7 separate regions of the Homo sapiens genome follow, and all the other regions are linked to region 3. The links are contacts of gene promoters, found by promoter capture Hi-C in blood cells and fetal thymus (Javierre and others, 2016). All regions are on one chromosome and are shown on one strand. Each heading gives the region's core, a stretch centred on a gene start or on the middle of the fragment in contact. The rest is flanking DNA. Distances are from core to core; before and after follow the strand shown.

Region 1 (3,243 bases), core at 656-3,155, 950 kb before region 3:
CAGGCCCCCAGCATCCTCACCATGGGGTGCCCCTGCCTGTCCTGCACCCTCACACTCAAGTCTGCCCGCAAGGGAGCCTGCTGGGTGGGTGTGGGAGGTCAAACCACTGCCCGCACTGCCTGGCCCATGAGGAGGCCGGGGCCTCTCCCCACCTTGCCCTGCTTTAGGGGTCCCGTGATCATATGGACCACCTGCCCACTGTCATCTCCTCAGCAGCCAGGGGCACTAACCAAGGTCACCAGCAAGTGACGGGCATGGCCACAGTGCACAGGGCCCTCAGGAACAGCTGCTGGCCACAGGGGGTTGGGACTAAATGGCTTTGGTTTTCCAATGGACTCCCGGGAGCAGCAAGAGACGGGGGTGACACCTTCCGTTGGCATCTCCCAGGGATCGAACCACCCAGGAGCTCTTGCAAACCAGGCACCAGGGATGCCCTCCTGCCCCTCTGGCGCTCCTGAGCAGGTCTTAAGGAAAGGTGGCTGACCCTGACACAGGCCAGGCTGCCTACAGCAGCTGGGAAATCTGCCCTCGGGACACAACAAACACCAGGGCTCAGATTGTATTTAGGGGTCAAGTGGGGCTACAGGCCCAGCGGGGCCCTGCAACCTCCCCCTTCTCGGGTCTCCCATGCAAAATGTGGACAGACTCTGCGTGACAGGGGTTTTGCTGGGATTAAACGAGACAAAGAACCTAAAAGCCCTTTGTAAAGGATCAAGTGCTAGATAAAAATAGCAGATCTTTATCAGCCGAGCCTTTCCTTTTTAGGGCTGACTCTGTGGACAGCTGTTGAGGCTGCATTGTGGCCAGACTTTTGCTTCTGCATTCTGGAAAACCAGGGAAACTAGCTTGTGAGATTGCTAACAACCAGAAAGACAGAAAAGGGAAAAAAAAAAAAGTCAAAGCGCTACGTGGGAGAGCCCGAGGGCCTGCTCCACAAATCAAATTCACCGACAAGGTGAGGCCTGCTAGCTTTATGGCAAAGGGCAGCCTCGCCTTTCCGCCTTTCCGCCTTAATGCTGGTCTGCAGAACTTGAGCTGGGTCCCGTGTCTCCCTGTCCTGGGGGAGGGGCTGGGCTCGGAGGCCCCACCGAGGGAGGTTAGAGAAGACAGAGCAGGGAGAAGGTGAGGCTTCCACGGCCCCAGCTGAAGAGCAGCAGTGGCAGGTGTGGCAGAGAAGGGCAGGGGTTCCTGCCAAGACCCCTCACTGTGAAGGCTGGGGATCCCCCACCTTACCTAGACTGCGGGTGGGCACTTCTCTCTCATGGCCCTGCTGATGTCCCCCAGCACACACCCGGGCTCAGCCACGCTGCCACCCTCCCAGCTCCGCTCCAGCCTGCAGAGCCAAACCCTCAGAGGCACCATTATGAGCAGAAGTGCAGAAGGCAGCATTACAGGCTACCAGAAAGTAGACAGGAAAGCGCAGATGTCCCTGCTTGGAGGCGAAGGCATTTCCTCCATAAAGCCCCACACAGAGGCAGAACTCCTAAATCCCGCCCCAGCGCTGCCTCTGCCTACTGTGCCCAATCAACACCAAGGCTCAAACACCAAAGCCCTGGAACCCTCACTGTCCCTTTGGCCCTCAAAGCAGCCTGTGATCTCGGGGTATTTACACCTGTCTGGGGACAGTGGGGCATCAGGGAGCCTGGGCTCAACCCAGAGCCCTGGCCCCTTGGGATCCCTGGTGCCCAGCTCACTAGAAAGATGGCCGAATGGCCCACCTTCCTGAGACCCCAGCCGCACCACCTATCATGCTGGGGACCCAGAAAAATGTTGCTCCCCATAGGAAGCAGTTACTGACAGTGAGGTATCTGAGGAGGGGGGCTCCCATTTAGATAGTAGAAAAATATTGCATATTGTTTCCAAGGCAACAGAGCTCTCTGAGCGAAGGGCGCATGAGCCGGAAGTCCAGGGACCCGAGAGAGGCCTGGGCCTCTCCCTGCAGGCTTAAACTGAGACCCACAGGGGCACTCATTAAATGATTTACCAAAGCCAGGGCCAAAATGGTCAGGGGGAAACCAGCCAACTGTAGCATTAACTCGGCAGACCCCCACAGCTGGAAGGGAGCGCTCCCGGGCCCCATCCCCCAGTAACAATGTCCAAATTAACTGCAAGCCGATTTAACGATGATTGCAGATTGCAGCCTGCCTGGAGGGGTTCGGCAGCCAGAAACGCACTCCTGAGGCCCAGGCTGAGAACAGGGAAGATGGGGGTTGGGGAGGCAGTCTCATCTCACCTCCCCCACATCTCTCCTGGTCCTCAGCAGCTTTCTTTCCCAGGCTCCAGACCACAGAGGCCAGGGCACCCACCGAGTGTGTGTGTCTTGTATGTGTTCAAGACAGAGCCTAGCTGGGGGAGAGGAGAGTGGGCAAACACTGTCCACCTGAGCACACAGAGCCCAGTGGTCCAGAGGCACAGATGCCATCTGCCAACAGGGTCAGGGGTCCCCATCACTCTCCTGTCCTCCCTTCCAGACTGCAGGCCCCACGGGCAGCATCTGTGCAGATGCGCTCTCGGCTTGGCTGGGCCAGGCGAATTCCCTCTTCTCTTCCATCCCTGATAGTCAAGGCATCTCCAGACAACAAAAGCTCACTGCTGGAAGAGCCCTCATGGGGAGAGGGAACTTGGAGAGAGTGGGGCGGTGGACAGAGGGGCTGGCCAGGTTGTGCCTCTGTGATTTCACCATAAACATTTTTTCTCCACACTAAGAGAAACTCATCCTCACTGGCAATCTGCTGACGGTCTTGAAACATGCAAGGACTGCTGAGAGAAGAGAGCAGAAATGAGGGAATGGAGAGAGAAGCGGCAGGAAAGCAGAGAAGCCACCGTGGGGCCTGCCGGGGCGCCAAATCCCAGGAATGGACGACAGCCATGAAAGTCCCCACGCTGCCACAGGGAAGGACCTGGATGGAGCAGGGCCGCTGCTCCACAAAGTGCTTTCGGGCCAGGCCCTCTTGGCCAGTGGGCATCAGGACACTGGGGTAGGGCTAAGCTGGCCAGATTTGCCCTCCTGGCTGGCACGGGACCCTCCCCCAACCGCTCCAGGAGACCCAGCTCCTCCTGCCGAGGGCCTGAGACCAGGACACACTAGGAAACTGAAATCTGATCCCCAGGTATGCAGGCTGGGGAGGGGGTGACACAGGACCATTAATCAAAGGCAAATGCCAAGGAGAAAATTACAGAGGTAAGAAGATGATTGTATTTAACTTGTTTTTCTCCCCTTACAGCCCCAGCTCGTGAGCCTCT
Region 2 (3,145 bases), core at 431-2,930, 850 kb before region 3:
AGCCTGGGTGACAGAGCGAGACTCCATCTCGGGGGGGGAAGAAAAAAAGTGGATGAAGTGAGACAGAGCACCTGGAACCATGACCTACTTGTTTCTCCAGAGCAATGAACTAGTGACACTCACAACCACTTGTGTGGATCTCATGGGAATGATGCTGAGTGGAAGAAAGCCCATCTCAAAAGTTTACACACTATATGATTCTATTTATTTAACATTCTTGAAGTAATAAAATGTATAGACTTGGAGAACAGATAAGTGTGATGCAATTGCATAGAGCTATATGCATATCCACACAAACTGTAAAACTGGTGAAATCTGAACAAGCCCTGTGGATTATACCAATGTCAATGCTCTGGTTTTGATATTGTATATAGTTATGTGAGAGGTTACCACTGGGGATATGGGTGAAAGGTACATGGGTTCTCCTGTACTCATTTCAGCAACTTCCTGTGAATTAATTAATTTCAAAATAAACAAAACAAAGTAAGGCAACATAAGACTTCTATAGCGTAAGACCTCTTGCACTCCCCCTCAGTATACCCTTAGGTTGTCTATAAGGCCCTTTTCATTCTACCAAAGCTTGTTTCTCTAGTCTTACTTCCTACCATTCCTCTTTATCTCCACCTCTTAAAGTCACACTGAACTTGTCACTGTTTTCTGAACATGCCATAGGTTGTTTCAAATTCTGTTCCCTTTCACACTTTGCCTGCCAAAAACCTTAAAAATCAGCTTAAACGTCACTTCAAACCTGTCATCTCTGTATCTGTCTCTGACAGACGTAGGAACTGCTTTATCCTCTTGGTTCCCACAGAATTTTATCTGCGCCCCCAAGTCCCTCTATATTATATTATTTACATGTGTATCTCCTCTACTGGATTATATACTTTTTTAAGAACGGGGACAAGGTTTGACTCCTATGCCTATCTGCCCACACAGAGAGGCACTAAAATGTCTGTGGATTCAATCAAACTGGGGATCTCTTGCAAGAGATAATGATGCAAGTAAAGACAGTAGACAACAACAAAGGCAACCATGCATGAGGAAAACGTTAACTCCAATGCGCACCACTGTTAAGTCATCTTTTTAGAAATAATTTTGAAGGGATCTATTTAGCAAAATTTTCCATACCTGTGTTCATTAGTTTACATAACTGAATTGATTCTAACTTACATATAACTAGTTATTGTTAAGAAATGCCTCAAAGAGGCCAGGTGTGGTGGTTCATGCCTGTAATCCCAGCACTTTGGGAGGCCACAGTGGGAGGATCACCAGGTCAGGAGATCAAGACCATCCTGGTCAACATGGGGAAACCATGTCTCTACTAAAAACACAAAAATTAGCTGGGCATGGCAACGCATGCCTGTAATCCCAGCAACTCAGGAGGCTGAGGCAGGAGAACCAGTTGAACCCGGGAGGCGGAGGTTGCGGTGAGCCGAGATCACACCACTACACTCCAGCCTCGCAACAGAGCTAGAGTCTGTTTCAAAAAAAAAAAAAGAAAAAAGAAAAAAAGAAATGCCTTAAAGAGCTCAGATTTGGGGGGAATGATGAGGCTTAAATTATTATTTTTTGTTTTTTTTGAGTTTCTTTAAACCCAATCTTTAACAAAAGAATCATTTTAAACAAGAGTCCTCTAAATATTTACCCATTTATATTTACTGCCTGAAATATCAATTCATTCTACAAGAAGAGATTAAATGACCTTGTTGAAAAAAGAAAGTTCTATATCAAAGTAAATGAAGACCAAGATGTGAAATGGAATCTAAAAGTGAACTGACAGATACTGTTGGTGCCAAGTATTTGATAATAAGAACAATTCTATTATCACATTAATTCCAGTGATAAATGCTTTCTACCTCCCCCAACCCCCACCTCTTTACTAAAGAAAATGTCTGCATAGTCTAAGCTGAATGATCATGGACTAAGGAAAGTCTATTAATAACCTTCTGGTGTCCAAGATTACTGTAAACAAGTTTAGTAACCATGAGTCACTGTTAAATGGCCATGCTATGAAGAGGCTACTCCCTTTCCCCCCTCTTAAAATATGTCAGCAAACTTACTCCTCTCATGAAATGAGTGAATATAGCTATTCAACCCTGTGAACACAAGCATTCATCGTAAGGAAGGGAACCACCTATAAGCTGAGCAAGGCAGCCATACCTCCTTTATACAGCATGTGGTGGGCGAAGAGTGCGTAAATAGTCCCCACATACACCACATCTGTTTGGTTGTTGGCAGTGAAAGACTAAGTCCCACCCCACCCCTGCCCCTAGTTACCTAAAAATAAGGATGGTAACATTAACCGCTTTTTTAAAATGTAAGAAAATTAGTTTTGTATGAATTCTTTTAAAAGAATTAGTCTCCTAAGAGACTAATCTATTTGTATCATACACAATTCTTAATGTGGTAACTATGTACCATATAAAACAAATACAAATACCAACATATAACAAATAAAGGAATAAACACTCAAATGTTATATTTATCATTTTGTCTGTGAGATCACAAGAAATGGATGGAAAAAGCCCAGGGACATAATGAATAAAGTGGAAAAAGGCATAATTTTACCATGGATTTGGCAGAGCTAGGTGTGAATTCCGTCTTTGACTCTAATATAATGAGTCAAAGTAATAAGCCTAGTAAATAACAGCTTTCTTCATCTGGATCACGGGAAACCAGAATCAATTCTATCTCAAAATAAGATGGGGGACTCTATACAAAGGCACCTTGCAAAGTATGGTGGTATATCGATGTAAGGATATGTCAACAGTGCAAAGCTTGAATTCCTTCTAGAATACTTAACTAAGTGGTCACCTAGTCCATGTCAATACCTCTTCAGAAACAGAAAACTTGCTGTCTTCTGAAAAAGTCAGCTTCCACTTACTGTTTTTCCTAATATCAAGACAAAATTGGACTTCTTGTTTTATTTCCACTCATGGGTCTGAATTCTACCTCCTGCCACGATCAGTTCGAATCCTTTTGTTACATTATATGGTCTCCCAAATACATTTTACTAAGAGCAAATCCGCCCTACAACATTACTCTGCTCAAATCTTCTCCCTAGGCTGTACCTCACATCTTGAGGTCATTCAACTGTTCCTCACAGTAGAGTTTTGAATTTCTATGTCAGCCTGGTCACTCCTCT
Region 3 (3,229 bases), core at 433-2,932:
TTAAAAAAAATTTTTTTTGGACAGGCTGATTTTACATTTGTAATATTTCTAAATCTTAAATTAAAAAATATATATTAACATTTATATTTTAAAAGATGCTTTCAAAAATATAAAAAAATTAACTCATTACCTATTTTGTTTAAGGGCTCCTGGAAAAACTGAGGGAATGATCAATATGCACACCAAAACAAATATATACAAACTTCTAAATTTCATTTTATAGGAATAGTATCTATTGAAAGGGCAGGGTGCATGAATAACTCAGTGACAGGCGTAAACTCAGCCAGGATTAGAAACGTCTTCCCAATGGAGGCCCCGCTCAAGTTGAGAATTTCATGGACACAGTAAATCATCCAAAAGCCCACCTTCAATAACCAAAGTAGGCATAAAAATAGGCCGATGGTTACTTTGGAGATAATATAATCCTCGGTCTTATTGTTGTGGAGCAGATGTCATTATGGGTGGGGCTGAAGCGCAGAGCAGCTGAAACATTTTTATACCACCACCCGCACACTTTCAATGGGATAGAAGGGACTCCAAAAGGTAAGAGCTCCCAATCGTCAGTTGCTACTAGAAATAACTAAGTTTTGATGTGGCCGTGGCACGCGTAAAGGCCACAAAGAGATTTATAAAATTCTCCATGATTAATTCCTATCCTGGAAAAGAGGCAATCTCCTTTTCCCCTCCCTAGCCGGCTCCTCCTTGGGACACTTGGCTGAGTCGTTCTTTCCCTCCTTCTCACGCTGAGGTGAGGCCGCACGCAAGCCGGAGACGCCCGTTTTCCTCTTCGCGCGGAGGAAACTCTACGGGTAAGAAGCCGGGGTGGCGGGAAAGGAGCACGCGGCACCGCGGGGAGGCAGAGAAGGCTTGCCAGGGACTAGCCGGGCTCGGGGAGAGCAGGGACACGCGGGCCGTCGGACCGAGGAGGCCGAGGTGACGAGGAAAATCTCCCGGCGCGGAGCCGGGACTGGGCGCTTCCGGCGGGCTACGGTTGCTCTTGGCCTAGCACAGCCTGCGTCCCGGGCCCCAACCGGGCCAGGTAGGGAGTTAGGAGAGAGGGTAAACCGCGGCTCGCACTTGCCTGAGACCGGGTGACCAGTAACTGGTAATAGTCTTTGCTAGGCGGCGGGCCTTGTCCTACAGTTTCAAAGAGAGTCTCCGGCAGCCACGACGCCATCTTGGGACGCCACCGCCGTCGCTAAGACAACCAGGAAGGGGCGGGGCTTGGTTGGGGTCAAGGGGCCAAAACCCTAGTTTAAATTGAACCACGCTTATGAGCTGGCAGAAGGATTTCTAACTTGGGGCGATCGTCCCCTCTTCCAAGGGTCTTAGGGAACCCTGATCCGTGAAATTTCCAGCTCCAGGTCCCGGGTGACCCGAGGGGGAATTAGTTCCTGCTACCACGGAGGGGAGGGGGTGACCCCGGCGGAGGGATACCAAGTAGATCTCCACAGTCCCCTTCCTGGTCCCTCGAAGGGATCGGGCGGAGATCGGAGGCTGCTGAGAGAGTCGAGCCGGGAGGCGTGGGAGGGAGGGGCGATGTGATGGGCCGCCAGTAGGCAGCGGTGCCGGTCCCGCGGACGAGCCCGTAACCGGAGCCCGAGGACAAAGTAGTTCCCCGAGGGTGTCAGAGCAGGCGGGGAGGGAGGCGGCACGGGCGGAGGCGCACGCCGGGCGCGGTGCTGCGGCTCAGCTGATAATTGAAGGAACCCGGAGCCGCCGCCGCCGCGCCGCTGGGGGGGGTGGGGGGAGCTAGTGGAAGTTACTGCCGCGCCACCGAGTCCGGACCGGAGACTTTGGGGCCTAACTAGGTAATTGGGGCGCAGCTCTGGGCGGCGGGGGCAAGCCTTGGGGGAGGGGGCCAGCTGAGGGGTTGGGGGGGCGGGGGGAGGAGCTGGAACAGAAAGTCCCAGGAAGCCCGGTTGTGTCATCGCCGCGATTCGGCCCCCGCTTGGCCTGCTCCCGGCGCCGGCGGCGGCGGGGCCGCGGAAGGACCGGGCCGGGGGTGGACGGGAGAGACGCTCGAGGGCGGCCGCGGCCGGAGGGACCGGGGCCTGGCGGGAGGTAGGGGTCGCTGGGTCCCTCCTCCGGCTTCCCGCAATGAGGAGGGCCCTTCACAGAACCGGGGTAAGGCTTGCGGGTGTTGGGGAGCTCGGCGGGGACCAAGGGGGGCCGGAAGTGGGCTTTGGAGCTTGGAGGGTGTCTGGGAAGAGAGAAAGTGGGGGGCCGGAAGTGCAGGTGGGGGGTGTGAAGACGGCAAGGGTTCCCCGGAAATGGGACGAGGGGCCCGGAAATCGGGAAAGGGGAGGCTCCGGGGCCGTGGACGGCCCGGAAATGGAAACTAGGAAGCAGCTCCAGTGACAACAGTTGTGGGAAGCGAGGGTCAGAGAAGGGAGAGGCCAGAGAGACTTTAGACCGCAGTAAGGGGTTTCCTGCCCAGGGGGACGGCGAGGGACGGTTGAGGGAGGGCGAGCCCGGAGACGGGGTCTGCGCGGGGCAGTTTTTTAAGCCGTGGGAAGTTGAGGCTGAGGGAGGATGATGACGAGGGGGGCATGCAGGGAGGCCTAAAGAAGCCGAGAAACTTGACTGAGAGGAATAGAGTATCCTTTTAAATAGATCAGAATGGAAATTGGTGGTAGGTGGGTTTAACTAGGACTTGGGGGAGGGAGGTGGGCCAATTGTCACCCCAATCGTATTAGCATTCAGAGCGAGTCAGGCGATTAATTTATTTATATGTGGATTACATAAAACCTATTATTTACAACGTTTGTCCATCAGTTCAGCCCCTCTCCTTCCTTCTCCATAGTGAGTGGGTTTCTAGTACAGGAACAAGTTAGAGGGGAGTTCGAATAACGAAGGTAGTAAAACCTCAAATCCTGTCTTCCTCGGCGTCTCTCCCTTCCTCAGAATAAGAAATCCTTCATTTCCTAGACGGAAAAATGCGGAAAAACATAAAAACACATGTAAATCGGGGGGAAATCACACTTTGAACTCCTGGTGGGGGACAGGAGGGAATTGGTTACCTTACGTGGTGAGGAGATAACGGAAGGGGCAGCTTCCAAACCCTTAAGACAAATGTTGTGTTTTTTTGATAATGCTGTTTTACTTTGGGGGAGGTTTAGCCTAAGCATCGAGTCTGGTGGTGGGCATAGTTTAATTGCTTCTTTAGTTAATTGGGGGAGGGAATGTGTTTGTGTGTAAAGGTTGGGCCGGTGCGGGGGGAGGCGGG
Region 4 (3,375 bases), core at 876-3,375, 800 kb before region 3:
TGACTGAAGCCCAGAGAGATGGAGTTACTTGTACAGAGTGACAACATAATTAGCCATGGAGTCAGGACCCAGCCCAGATCTTTCGATTCCCAGGCTTCTGTGTTTCCCACTGTAACACAGGCCTCCCATCTTCTCTACAAGAATAATGTAGAAATTAAATACTATCTACTGGCCTAACTAAACTATAAGCCACTAATCAAATTATGACTATACAACGAAAGCATTTATAATAAACCATCTCTTTTAGATTGTAATGTGGTTACTGCTTGGAAACCTATTAAAATCCAAATTCGGATCTATTTATAAACCTCCATTCTAAAATACTAATTCAAAACTGCTCAGCAAGGAAAATAAAATTATTTCATGAGGGAGTCATACCCTATTTCAGGGAGCACATATTTTGAAGTGAGGCAGACCTGAGTTCAAATTCTGGCTCAACTGTGCAATGTTTGTGTTATCCTGGACAAACCCTCCACTTTGGTTTCCCATCAATGATGTTGGGGACAATACTACCTAAGAGGTTTGCCCAACATTTAGTGGACCTAAACGGTAATTTGTTCCCCCAAGCTAACTAATTTTTGTTAATTTTCCTTGATTCTTTGTCTATTTCGACTTCTAACTTCATACACGCCTCCCAAATCACTTGCCAGCTACATCACAAATATTATGAATATTAGTATATTAAACCTTAAAAAAGAATTATATGACAAAGAACATTTAATATATTTTGAATACAACCTTTGTAAATGTTAGTGAAAAGGTCCAAAAGAAGACATTACTGCATAAAGTATGATACTTAATTCAAGTAAACTGGACAAAGAATGAAGAAAACCAGGCTCCAGATTCAGTCCTGTGGCTAATAAGCCATAAAACCCTAGAAAAGAGACTTCACTTTGCAGAAAGCTACACCTGTTACTGCTCAAAGTGAACCAAACTCTGCTCTAGTTACGGTGGGCCTCAGTGTTCCCACCTGCAGAAAGAACCATTCTGCCTAGGTTGTTTCTGAAGTTCTAAAGTTTCTCCCCCCTGGAAAAGCCTATCATGAGCATCACAAAACTTATGTCTAGGCATCTGATACACGGCAGCACATCAGATGTAGCAACTCATTTAATCGTCCTACAACCCTCTCAGATATGGTCTACTATTACCATCCAAGGAATTCAAGCTAGACAGAAGGAACTTAAGGTTATAGAGCCCACAGCAGAGGAATGAGGGTTCAAAATCTAGGCAGTCTGGCTGCACCTGCGCTTTTAACCACTGGCTAACACTACCTCTCCAAATTCTATAAACCTAAAAGCGGGCCTTAACTACAGACATGTAAACAGAAACCTGTCCAAGTATTTCTTCCTAGTGCCTCAATACAGCTGATATATAATCTACTGTGGAGGGAGACAACAGTGACTAGCATGTTAATAGTCAGTACACTGTAAAGAGCAAGTTACAGTTCATGAGACAAGATCACAAAGTAGGAACTTAATTAAGATCAAGATACACAATGTATGTTTTGTTTCTCAAATGTATTACCAAATAAAGTGTGTGATCTTTTAACAGTATCATACTTCCGTGGTCCTCAACAATTTTTGCTGGATAATGCTCCCAAAGAATAATTACCATATAAAAACAAACTGCCACTAAATAATGGCTAGATTTTCCCCATCTTTGAAACATGCATATGAATACACACATAAACAAGCAAACACAATCTATAACTTAAACACTATATTCTGAGTACCAAGACAAAAGCTATTAAAGATCATACAAATAGGTATGCACTGGATATGGTCAACATGAAGGGCCAAGGCAGGATTTACCTCCCTCCTTTGGAGCCACTTCACACCCGAATGACCTCCCGCAATTCTCTGCATGCCATCCTGCCTTCCTCTGCAGGCTTAACATCACAGCTGCTATAAACCACAATTCTGCTGTCCCCTCACCCCTTCTGTTTTAAAAGTTAAAAGCACAGTGGGACTGGGAAGCTCAGTGAGACAGAAATGGCACAACACCCCCCAAAAATGCAGATGGCAACTAGCTGTTAACCTGATTTCATCACCACCAGTCTATGATCTGCCACCTAGGCCTGTAGTAACTCTTCTCATAATCCTCGGAGGGCCTGAGAAACAGAGGCAGAACACTGATCATTTTATTCACAGACTGTTCTACTCTACAAATGGTGACGGCAGAAGTATTTGCTTCACTTTGCTCTGCCCCCATATTCCGGACTGTAGAGATGAGGGGAGTTGAGTCCAGTCTCTCTTTCTCACTGCAAGACACCCTTGCAGGAGAATTTTTTAAAAAGTAGTGGTTGGGATCCGGTCGGAAAGTCACTAAGGGCACAGAACGTACGAACTCTCACACAGCTCAATTCCTTCTGTAATTAAAGAAGGCTCTAATACAAGTCTTCTTACAATGGCCAAAAGATACTGATGACTAAATTGCTATGCAAATTTAGATTACCTGACTTCATAATAATGCCAGATCTTTACACCTCAGTAATAACAAGTCACAAGTAATTTAACCCAGAGATTCAGATTTGATATTTTTTCCCCACAATTTTATCAAAGTGTGTAAAAAAAAATGTTTACCAGTTTTTCTGTTATCCAAATTAATCCACCTTCCACAGTCCCATTTCTGTAACATGTAAAGACGTTCATAAAATCAAATGCCCAATTAAAAGAAGCAATGAAAAAGAGGAAAATGAATTTTTATTTTTATTATTTTTATTTTATATATACATTTTTTGAGATGGGGTATCACTCTGTCACCTCAGGCTGCAATGCAGTGATCAAAATTCACTGAGGCTGCAAATTCCTGGGCTCAGGCAATCCCTCCTGCCTCAGCCTCTTGAGTAGCTAGGACAACAGGCACACACACCACCATGCCCGGCTAATTTTTTATTTTTGTGGATATAGGGTCTTGCTATGTTGCTCAGATCGGCCTCCAACTCTTGGGCTCAAGCAATCCTCCCACCTTGGCCTCCCAAAGCACTGGGATTATAGGAGTGAGCTACCCCGCTCGGCCTGACCTTTTAAAATAGGGCTGGAGGCCAGTGTGGTCAGGCCTATAATCCCAGTGCTTTGGGAGGCTGGGGCAGGAGGATGGCATAAGCCCAGGAGTTCAAGACCAGCCTGGGCAACAGAATGAGACACCATCTCTTTTAATTAAAACATTTTTTAAATTAAAAAATAAAATAGAGCTGGAATAGAAACAATGCCAGAAAGGTAAACAAAAGACAATACCTGAAACAAAATTCGTCCTACTACTGAATTTTATTTTTGGGGGTTGGGGAGGTTGGATTTGTGTATTTTCATGGCAGATGGCTAAACTGTGAGTGATTAGTCATCAATCTGGAAAAAAGGCTCTTGGGAAAGTATGGCA
Region 5 (3,015 bases), core at 510-3,009, 890 kb before region 3:
AAACAACTATTTTTAAATTTTATTTAGCGGGACTTTCCAAGATAAAGGGTTTTGTGTCCAAAGTTTTCCATTTGTGTACCCTGCACATGCCACAGTTATCGTTTTATCACAGCTAATTCAGAAAGGTTTACACAAGTGAGTATTTTTCTGCTCCTTCTTAGGTCTCCTGAAGATAATCCAGTGTTTTCTTACTGACCCCTCACCATCACTAATTATACCAATTAATGCTAAAAAAACATCTGTTTACTTCAAGGGTTTACTAATTTCTGGAGAGTTGGTTATATCATATAAACTCATAACTTTTAAACTGTCACGGCTTACTCTTTCCTAAAACCAGCAGTCACTTCTTCAGGTTGTCAACATGCCAACAACCTGGCCAAGGCTGAGTGTGCAGAGCCGGCAGTGGGGCAGGTGCCAAGCTGCGGTCCTTGTGGGCGGTGGCAGAGCTGTGGAGAGCTTGGTCCCTGGTGCCAGCCTGCCTGGGTTCCAATCCTGGCTCCCTACTTCTTGTGAGCTCTGTAATCTTGAGCACGTTACTGAACTCCTCTGTGTCTCGGTTCCATCATCTGTATAATGGAACAGTGCCTCTCTCTCAGGAGAGTGCAGTGAGAAACGAGCATCAGTGTGCAAAGCACGTATCAGGCCTGTATCTGCAGAGATGTGAGTGAGTGAGGGCTAAGGGAAGAAAAGGCGCAAATAGCGGCTCTGTGGCTTTGCTTTAATTGCTTTTGTTGCTTCCTTTCTGGGTTTCTGGCTATGTTCTAGATACTTGAAGTTTCCAGGTAACTGATCTCTGGATAAGTAACTTGTCATCATATTAAATAAAAAATGAGCTGATGTACAAGAAAACAAATCTATTTTACTTAGGCTTTATAAGGAACTCATAGGAAAAACTGAAAGGAGTAGGCTTCATATCAATGTGAATCACAAAATCTATTCTTACGGTGAGAAGCAACCAGTATCTTACAAAGACTGAAAAGTTAGTATTATGTGATTTATAGCTTTCGTGTTCTTTTTCTATCACAGAAACCAAAGAAAATCTGAAGGAAGATGACTTCAAATATGTAATTCTTTTTTTATTTTTTGAGATAGTCTCACTCTGTCACAAAGGCTGGAGTGCAGTGGCACAATCTTGGCTCACTGCAACCTCCACCTCCCGAGCTCAAGTGATTCTCATGCCTCAGCCTCCCAAGTAGCTGGGACTACAGGCTTGTGCCACCACACCTGGCTAATTAATTTTTGGGGCTAGAGACAGGGTTTCACCATGTTGGCCAGGCTGGTCTTGAACTCCTGACCTCCATCCATCCACCCACCTTGGCCTCCCAAAGTGCTGGGATTACAGGCGTGAGCCACCATACTCAGCCCAAACATGTAATACTTTACTAAAAAACTTGGGAGTCTTGCATAGGGAATATAAATTTGCTGGCGACATAAATATGGGAATAAATAAATGCCAATGTGGCTACGAAAAAGAGAGTACAAATTAAAATCCATCTTTAAAGTACGGCTGGTGCTGAAGCCGCTCCATGTGTTCATGGGGCACTCACAGGCCCACCGCTAACATAAACTGCAGGAGCCAGCAACTTGCTTTATATCCATTCCTAAGGGCTTGGAAATGGTGGTCTCAGCCTTTCTTTTCATGTTGGTAATTCTGAATGGCAGAAGGGTCTTGAAGGCCTTTCTCCTTATCCAAACAGCCCAAGAATCCAACATTTGGTCAAAGTTTATGGATTTGCCAATAACCTCCACCCTGCACCCCCGGCCCCAGCTTCCTCCCACAATGGCCCTAGAAGCTACTAACCTAGGCTATCCTGTCTGGCCTTTGTGGCCTTAGAAGATACTGACTCCAGTGAACTGTGTGCATCTGTATAACTGCTGGCAAGAGTAGTATACCTCAGCCCTTTGAGGATCACAGAGCAGGAGAGGCCCCAGGAACCTCCACTCTCTCACACACTGATGTCCAGGGAGGAGAAACTCCTCCCACAGCTGCCAGGAAGTTCTGTCCAACCCCCCAAAGATGAAAGGACAGCAAATGATCCTCTAAGCCAGGGAAGGTGGGGCCCAAGCAACAGCAATGAATGGAAAGCAAGGGGCCTGGCTGGACTGTGCCTGTTCCCCAGCTGTGGCTGTCACGGATGCCCTGCTGCAGGAATTACAGCCTTACACGGAAAAAAGGCATATGCTGTTCTGAAAGAAAGTGCTGATTGAAAATGTGGACGGTGGAGTGTTCCTATCAAAGGACACAAAGTATTCCAGATGCTCCTAGTGTCCTTTAGTCTTTTCCACAGAAAGATAAGGTCTTCAAGGGAGATTTCCCCACGGTAGGAAGGGGATGAGTGGATGGAATCTTGGTCATTATCGGTCCAGACACCCATGAGGGGAAGAACTCTGGGCAGAGTCAAATTTTAAATGGACCTGGCAAAAAACTGAATGGAATTATGATTTTCCCCTCAAATCCTTTGTGATTTCATCTATATCTCCTGTTGGGACTGCTTACTGACAGAGTGGAGGGTATGCACTTCTTAACTGCTATAAGAACTTTCTACAGCAGGGGTCAGCAAACTATCAAGGGCCAAACAGTAAATATTTTAGACTTTGCAGAACATAGGGTCTCTGAGGCATCTACTTAATTCTGCTGCTGGAGCTCAAAACAGCCACAGACAATATGTAAATAAATGAGCACGTCTTTATTCCAGTAAAACTTTACTTACAAACACAGGCAGCTGGCTGGATTTAGCCCATGGGTTGTAGTTTGCCAACCCTTGTTCTACAGTTTAAATCTTAAATTTAACATTCTAACTTGCAAAGGATATCCTGCTTTGATACAAAGCAGCCAAGCCTGTCTACGGTCCACAGCCTCACACGCACATCGCCTCCCTCCACCCTCACACACCTGCCTGTGCCACCCAGGCCACAGCCCAGGAGCACAGCACCTGGAGTGCCTTCATCTAGCTGATATGACTATGGCTCAAAATCGCAAAGAATGCACTGCTAGGAGATGAAGTCTTCTTCAAA
Region 6 (2,980 bases), core at 307-2,806, 780 kb before region 3:
AACCTCAGCTCACTGCAACCTCCACCTCCTGGGTTCAAGTGATTCTTGTGCCTCAGCCTCCTGAGTAGCTGGGATTACAGGCATGCACCACCGTGCCTGGCTAATTTTCATATATTTAGTAGAGATGGAGTTTCACCATGTTGGCCAGGCTGGTCTCAAACTCCTGGCCTCAAGTGATCTGCCCATCTTGGCCTCCCGAAGTGCTGGGATTACAAGCATGAGGCACTGTACCCGGCCCTGCCAGGGGTTTTCAACTGGGGACTGACATCACCTACCTGTGAAGTTTTATTAGTATGCAGATGTTTTGGACCTATTCCATATTTACAGAATCTCTTCACTTTATGTTCTTTATATATTCTTAATATATTCTAACAATATGTTTAGTATATTAGTGGTATATTATGTTGGTATTATTATATGTTATACCTAAAGATTTTTTCTCGGTAAAGATTATGTTCCTCTGTTTTTATAAATTGGAGATAGCATTCACTTTTCTTTGGAAGTAGGGTTACTCATTATGTTTGTAAATATTTCATCCAAAACAGTTTTTAGATTGATTTTCTTATTTTGGTTTGCATGCCACAGAAACAAACAACATCCCTGTCAGTTTTACTATTCTTGTTATAAACTCCCAGCAGATCTTTCACTTCTGAAAATTGTCAATAGTTAAGCACAGCCATTTTATTTTATTTTATTTTATATATATATTTTTGTGAGATGGAGTCTCACGCTGTCACCTAGGCTGGAGTGCAGTGGCACAATCTCGGCTCACTGCAACCTCTGCCTCCTGAGTACAAGCTATTCTCGTGCCTCAGCCTCCTTAGTAGCTGGGATTATAGGTATGCGCCATCATGCCCAGCTAATTTTTGTATTTTTAGTAGAAACGGGGTTTCACCATGTTGGCCAGGCTGGTCTCGAACTCCTGACCTTGTGATCTGCCCGCCTTGGCCTCCCAAGGTGTTGGGATTACAGGTGCGAGCCACTGCGCCCGGCCTAAGCACAGCCATTTTATTTTGTCATCTACTGATAGGGTTTTTTGTTTTACTCTGATGCTTCCCTGAAAGCCCTTGTAATCAGCTACAGACCACAGTGCTTCATCTTCAACAAAGAAGGACTGTCTCAGAGACATGCAGTAAAGGACTATGCGAGGGACTTTAAGTGCAAGCTTCTGGCGGCATCATTCAAACAGCTATGAGACCACATCAGTGGACTGAGTCAGGATTTCTAGAACTCTAGTTGAGACGCTGGTTAGTTCATGAGATGACCAACTCAAAATCCAGTGGAACAAGAATTTATTACCTAAGACTAAATGAACTGATAAGGAATGATGGTGGGTTTTGTTTGCAATGTTTTAGATGTGGTTTTAATGTTCCATTTTCTGCATATGAAGGAACCCCCTTCTCTTCTCTTAAGCTCTCTATGACTCGTAACAGTTTGGCAGACTTTGGTAACCAGAAACAAACCATTTTTAAATATCTTATTCTCCCTCCCTGACCTCTCCAAAATTCAGAAACTCTCATTAAGTATTCTTAATTTTATGGCAATATGATTATTTGCATAGGTTCAATGAGAATCTGCCTTCCTTATTAACAGGACATAATTGGAAATATTGATTATGCACCCAAAACTTTGCCTGAAATATCATGTTTGAGAATGATGCTCATTTAATCAGAAATCACCTGATACATTAAAGTAACTAGGATTGACTTTATGGAGCCAATGCTTGCCAGCCCTCTGACTTACAGAGTTGTCAGCCTTACACGTAAGTTAGGAAGGTCACTTCCTTGCAAGCCCGTGAACTGTAGGATATTGAGGGGTCCTTGAGAAGAGAGGAATTTGCTCATATTTATAGGTACCAGAAGTAATTTGGATGTCAAGTTCTTGGTGTGGCTTCCTAGTCTCAAGAGGCTTTCAAACGTCCAATCTGAGATACCTTATTAAAGCTTCCAGCAAAGCAAGTTTAAGGAGGCCTATCTGCTAAAGTACCATTCTTGCTGCTCCTGTGTAAATAGTGAGACTATACCTAATAAGGCCAGCCTTATTTTGTGATGATGAAAAATTTTTCTTTGAGATTATCTTTGTCAAAAGACAGGTGTCTAAAATGAGAAATTTTATGTTTCAATATGTAGCACACCCTTCTGGTTATCAGACTCCAGCCCTGTGCATTGCCTTTGAGTCTTCTTGGACCTCTTTACACACTGCAGGTAGCTGATGACTATGCAAACTCTGTCTTGTCTGATGAGATTTAATTGGCTGCCTTTCCCTACTCCTCATAGAAAAACCAGTTTGGGAACCTACCTTTAAATTTGATTAGATCCTGTTGCCTTGCCCAAATTGTCAATCCTTACCAGGTTTTCAATTTCTCCAGTTTTCTTCAATATCTGACTACAGTCCTCCAAACTAACTTTCACATTTTTTCTTCCTCAAGCCTGAATTGGCATCACCAAGAATTAACACCCGACTGCCCAAATCCCTGTCAGGACTGTGGGTTGCCTTGCAGCTGGCCTTTTCTCCCAGAATCTGAAGGAGTTCTACAAGCTGAGGCTTAGCGATTTGGCATAAACCTTGAAAGACTCAGCCCTTCAGGATACCATGAATTCTCCCTGGACAAGCTGCTGCCTGGACCACTAAGGAAGCCCAGCAAAATGCTCAGGCCATGTATGCCCTTTCGTGACAAGTGCCAAGATTGTGGACAATATCACAAGACATTGACAGCTTTAAGAAACTCAAAAACTGGTGCTGGAAGATTTTCTTCTGCTAACCTCTTGGAATTCACTGAACCAGCTAATTCTCAGATTCAACTACTGGCTTTTACTTTAATGTAACTTTTATATTATTATTTCGTTATTTTAGACATCCCTCTTTATATATATATATTTTTACTTTTTATTATTTTTTTTCGAGATGGAGTCTTGCTCTGTCGCCCAGGCTGGAGTGCAGTGGTGTGATCTCGGCCCACTGTAGCCTCTGCCTCCTGGGT
Region 7 (2,984 bases), core at 408-2,907, 870 kb before region 3:
GGACTTAACTATCCAGTCTTCCTCTTATTAGATCTCCTGTTCTAGCACAATGTCACCTCCCAACCTGCCACACAACTTTCAAATTCTCTCCTTATTGCTGCCAATCATGTTATGTTCATTCCTGCCCCTGTACCTTTGTTCCCAGTCATATGCCATTAGGATGCCTTCTCTCTTTTCTGCCTGTGTAAATTCTAAACTACTAGGAACTCCCATCTTAAGTCCTATTCCTTTTATCAACCCTTGCCTTATTAACCCAAACCACATTTTATCCTCTGAAATCCTGTAGTACTCATTTGTTATCTAGTAGTGGTGTCCTCTTACACATCACAGATCCTCAACAAGATAAAACCACACTCCTTGGCATCAGTGGAGGCATGCAGCTAGAATGCTGACCGGCTCTTACTTGATGGAAATATCTGCTCACAAAATGGCTGATCATACAATTCATCTTTGCTGAGCTTTAGAAGGCAGGAAAGACAAGGGTAAGACAGTTTGGTACAAGTTGAACAGGTTTTGATGGAGGCTTGTCAAGCTTGTCTAAACGATTAAACCATAAACCAGTAAATACAAGGCAAACAGTTATGCTGTATAACCTGTGAGCACTAGAGTGAACAGCATACTAACATGTAAATTGCCAGTAAAAAAAAAATCGCCTCCAAATGTAGTCTAACACTAGCAATACGACTTCAAATGCATGCTAGTATTAGCAGCATGGCCCCGCAAATAAATATCTAACAGAAGTACTCACAGCCTAAGAAGATAATCACACTGTATGGAAGCAGTCTAAATTAATTAACAAAAGTACAAAAATCTTAAAATGCAGTTCACAGCGCTCCTTCAAGAAACAGCTGTTTCCAGGTCTGGCAGGACTCGTACAAAATGAGCAAGATGGTCATCCTACGCCAGAAAGCAAGGAAGCAATCACAGACTGATGGGGTCTTGCCAAAACAACACAGAAGGCAACTTGAAGGAGTTCCCAAGGGCCAAAGATGGGGCAACTTGGACACAAGAAAGTAATGACTGGAATGGATTGAGACATATCAAATATAATTTTTAAAAAGACAAAAACGTGAGTTTATAATGATCCTTAAAACAACTCAATACTTATCTAAGGAAGTGGCCAGGTCATCAACTGATTATACTAAAAAAAAAATACCTGATTATACTAAAAAATGAGACTATTTTGGGATAACTAAGTCATCAAGGAAGAAGGGTTCTTCTTTATAGAAACAATTTAATTATATGAAGAAGAAATAACAGAATCAGGAAACTGCCATTCTGAATCTAGGCAATGATTCTCAATGGAAACTAAAACCAGGAGGTGAAAGGTCAATGAGAATTTTGTAATGGACAGATTACAGACTGAGGACACCTGCATCCACCGGTCAATCCGAACATCACCAGAAATGGGATAACCAGTGCCACCCAATATGAAGCACACAGCACCATCCATGAACTTTTGCCCCCCTCAAAGTGAATCCGAATCTAATAAAAAAAAGCCAGATCTAACTATCTACCAGTTAAATCACTAGCAGATAGTGGAACATGTTACAGAAGCAACAGGAATGCCAAGTCTAAAATATATGATTTTTCTACAAAACAAACAATCCAGGCTTCAACAAAGAGATGGCATAATATTAACTATTATAGATTAAAAGAGAGCTCAGAGTATTAACCAAATTCAGTTTGTGGGCCTTGTTTGGAACTTTTTTTTTTTTTTGGAAATCAAGTCTTGCTCTGTCACCCAGGCTAAAGTGCAGTGGCGCAATCTCGGCTCACTGCAACCTCCATCTCCTGGGTTCAAGCTATTCTTGTGCCTCAGCCTCCCGAATAGCTGGGATTACAGGTGTGTGCCACCACACCCGGCTAATTTTTGTATTTTTAGTAGAGGCGGGGTTTCACCATATTGCCCAGGCTGGTCTCAAACTCCTGGACTCAAGTGATCCACCCGCCTTGGCCTCCCAAATGCTGGTATTACAGGCGTGAGCCACCATGTCCAGCCTGGAAGTAATATTAAATAAACGAACTGTAAAATGCCATTTTTGTGAAAATTGAGGAAATCTGTAGATTGGGCATTAGACATTAGGTTTGCAAATGGTAACGTAACTGTGTTATACTGTGTTTTGTAATGCGTACTAGGGATGCATACTGAGTGATGTCATGTGTCAGAGGAAAAAGGGGGCAAGGACTAGAGGAACAAGAATGACAGAACATTCGTAACTGTTGAAGCTGGGTTTAGGGTAGGAACCGGTATGTTACATATTCCCTCTAGTTGTACGTATATTTTTCACAACAAAGGAGGTGGGCGGGGCTTCCGGTGGGCCCACCAGTTGCATTCTCCATGCTACTTCCTGGCTGGAAGTGTCTGCTCTGGCCAGCACAGGTGAGAGCTCTAAACTGTAAATTGTATCTCAAAAGTCTTTCTTGACATGCCATTTAACAACATTCATATCATGCCTCTGATTACTCTGAAGTGAAAAATGTCAGCAGAGTTAACTAATGTATTGATTTTAATAATCCTTGGTTTCTATGGAAAAGGAAATATGGGCTTTAAAAACACACAAAGGCACCTGAAAGCTGCTCTAAGATCACCACAATTTCACACTGCTCACTACATGTTTTTACATACAACTCTGAATTGATACAACACAAAATTAGATGCCAAAAGTTCTGTATCCCAAAATCTGAAGAAGTAACACAGATGGTTAGAAATAGAAAGAGGGAAACAGAACGCTGGCGTGCAACACAGGCACTGACTCACACTTTGTCTAAACAAGCTTGAACTTGGGGGAAGTGTTAAACCGCAGAGACGTGAATCAGACTGAGGCAAGCTATAAAGCCAGGAGGAGTAGAGCAAGCTGATTCACACCAACAGTCATGCCAGGAACATGCCTGCCCACCAACTTAATAGAACAGACCACCACCAATGTTGGGACAAACAGATGCACACCATACCCGGGGCTGGCACACAACTCTGGTGTGAA

Evidence for each region. Contacts are between HindIII fragments. The CHiCAGO score rates a contact against its expected background, and 5 or more counts as called.
Region 1: a fragment that was not itself captured here is called in contact with the fragment with the promoter of TRIP12 in region 3 in 1 of 17 cell types (naive B cells); the score reaches 6.0 in naive B cells.
Region 2: a fragment that was not itself captured here is called in contact with the fragment with the promoter of TRIP12 in region 3 in 2 of 17 cell types (total CD4 T cells and fetal thymus); the score reaches 5.5 in total CD4 T cells.
Region 4: a fragment that was not itself captured here is called in contact with the fragment with the promoter of TRIP12 in region 3 in 8 of 17 cell types (neutrophils, fetal thymus, naive B cells and 5 more); the score reaches 10.7 in neutrophils.
Region 5: a contact is called between a fragment that was not itself captured here and the fragment with the promoter of TRIP12 in region 3, in 1 of 17 cell types (neutrophils). The highest score is 6.5, in neutrophils.
Region 6: a fragment that was not itself captured here is called in contact with the fragment with the promoter of TRIP12 in region 3 in 1 of 17 cell types (neutrophils); the score reaches 5.4 in neutrophils.
Region 7: a contact is called between a fragment that was not itself captured here and the fragment with the promoter of TRIP12 in region 3, in 9 of 17 cell types (total CD4 T cells, fetal thymus, naive CD8 T cells and 6 more). The highest score is 10.6, in total CD4 T cells.

What each region holds. Positions count from the first base shown.
Region 1 is chr2:230,868,521-230,871,763 of GRCh38, reverse strand. The region is part of intron 1 of ITM2C (integral membrane protein 2C); the gene reads right to left. Among named protein-coding and RNA genes, the nearest start is that of ITM2C, 5.2 kb to the right of the region's middle. RefSeq lists enhancers at 899-1,556, 1,557-2,214. The HindIII fragment of the contact is 4,603 bases long and covers 1-3,243 here.
Region 2 is chr2:230,773,594-230,776,738 of GRCh38, reverse strand. The region is part of intron 2 of CAB39 (calcium binding protein 39); the gene reads right to left. Among named protein-coding and RNA genes, the nearest start is that of CAB39, 62 kb to the right of the region's middle. RefSeq lists an enhancer at 1,851-2,145. The HindIII fragment of the contact is 2,198 bases long and covers 582-2,779 here.
Region 3 is chr2:229,920,462-229,923,690 of GRCh38, reverse strand. It overlaps TRIP12 (thyroid hormone receptor interactor 12), which reads left to right and starts at 1,682. Exons shown (of 42, transcript NM_001348323.3): 1 at 1,682-1,811. It overlaps FBXO36 (F-box protein 36), which reads right to left and starts at 1,188. Exons shown (of 4, transcript NM_174899.5): 1 at 1,082-1,188. The coding sequence starts at 1,177. RefSeq lists enhancers at 910-969, 1,626-2,126, 2,127-2,627 and a silencer at 1,800-2,189. The HindIII fragment of the contact is 9,663 bases long and covers 1-3,229 here.
Region 4 is chr2:230,716,363-230,719,737 of GRCh38, reverse strand. The region is part of intron 1 of CAB39 (calcium binding protein 39); the gene reads right to left. Among named protein-coding and RNA genes, the nearest start is that of CAB39, 5.2 kb to the right of the region's middle. The HindIII fragment of the contact is 4,922 bases long and covers 1-3,375 here.
Region 5 is chr2:230,814,341-230,817,355 of GRCh38, reverse strand. All of the region lies in intron 7 of CAB39 (calcium binding protein 39), which reads right to left. Among named protein-coding and RNA genes, the nearest start is that of ITM2C, 49 kb to the left of the region's middle. The HindIII fragment of the contact is 6,201 bases long and covers 1-3,015 here.
Region 6 is chr2:230,696,144-230,699,123 of GRCh38, reverse strand. LOC124907996 (formin-like protein 16) reads left to right here. Exons shown (of 4, transcript XM_047446832.1): 2 at 2,429-2,821. LINC01907 (long intergenic non-protein coding RNA 1907) reads left to right here. Exons shown (of 4, transcript NR_040038.1): 2 at 2,429-2,821. Among named protein-coding and RNA genes, the nearest start is that of LINC01907, 2.9 kb to the left of the region's middle. The HindIII fragment of the contact is 778 bases long and covers 1,168-1,945 here.
Region 7 is chr2:230,794,013-230,796,996 of GRCh38, reverse strand. All of the region lies in intron 4 of CAB39 (calcium binding protein 39), which reads right to left. Among named protein-coding and RNA genes, the nearest start is that of ITM2C, 69 kb to the left of the region's middle. RefSeq lists an enhancer at 2,522-2,984. The HindIII fragment of the contact is 2,245 bases long and covers 535-2,779 here.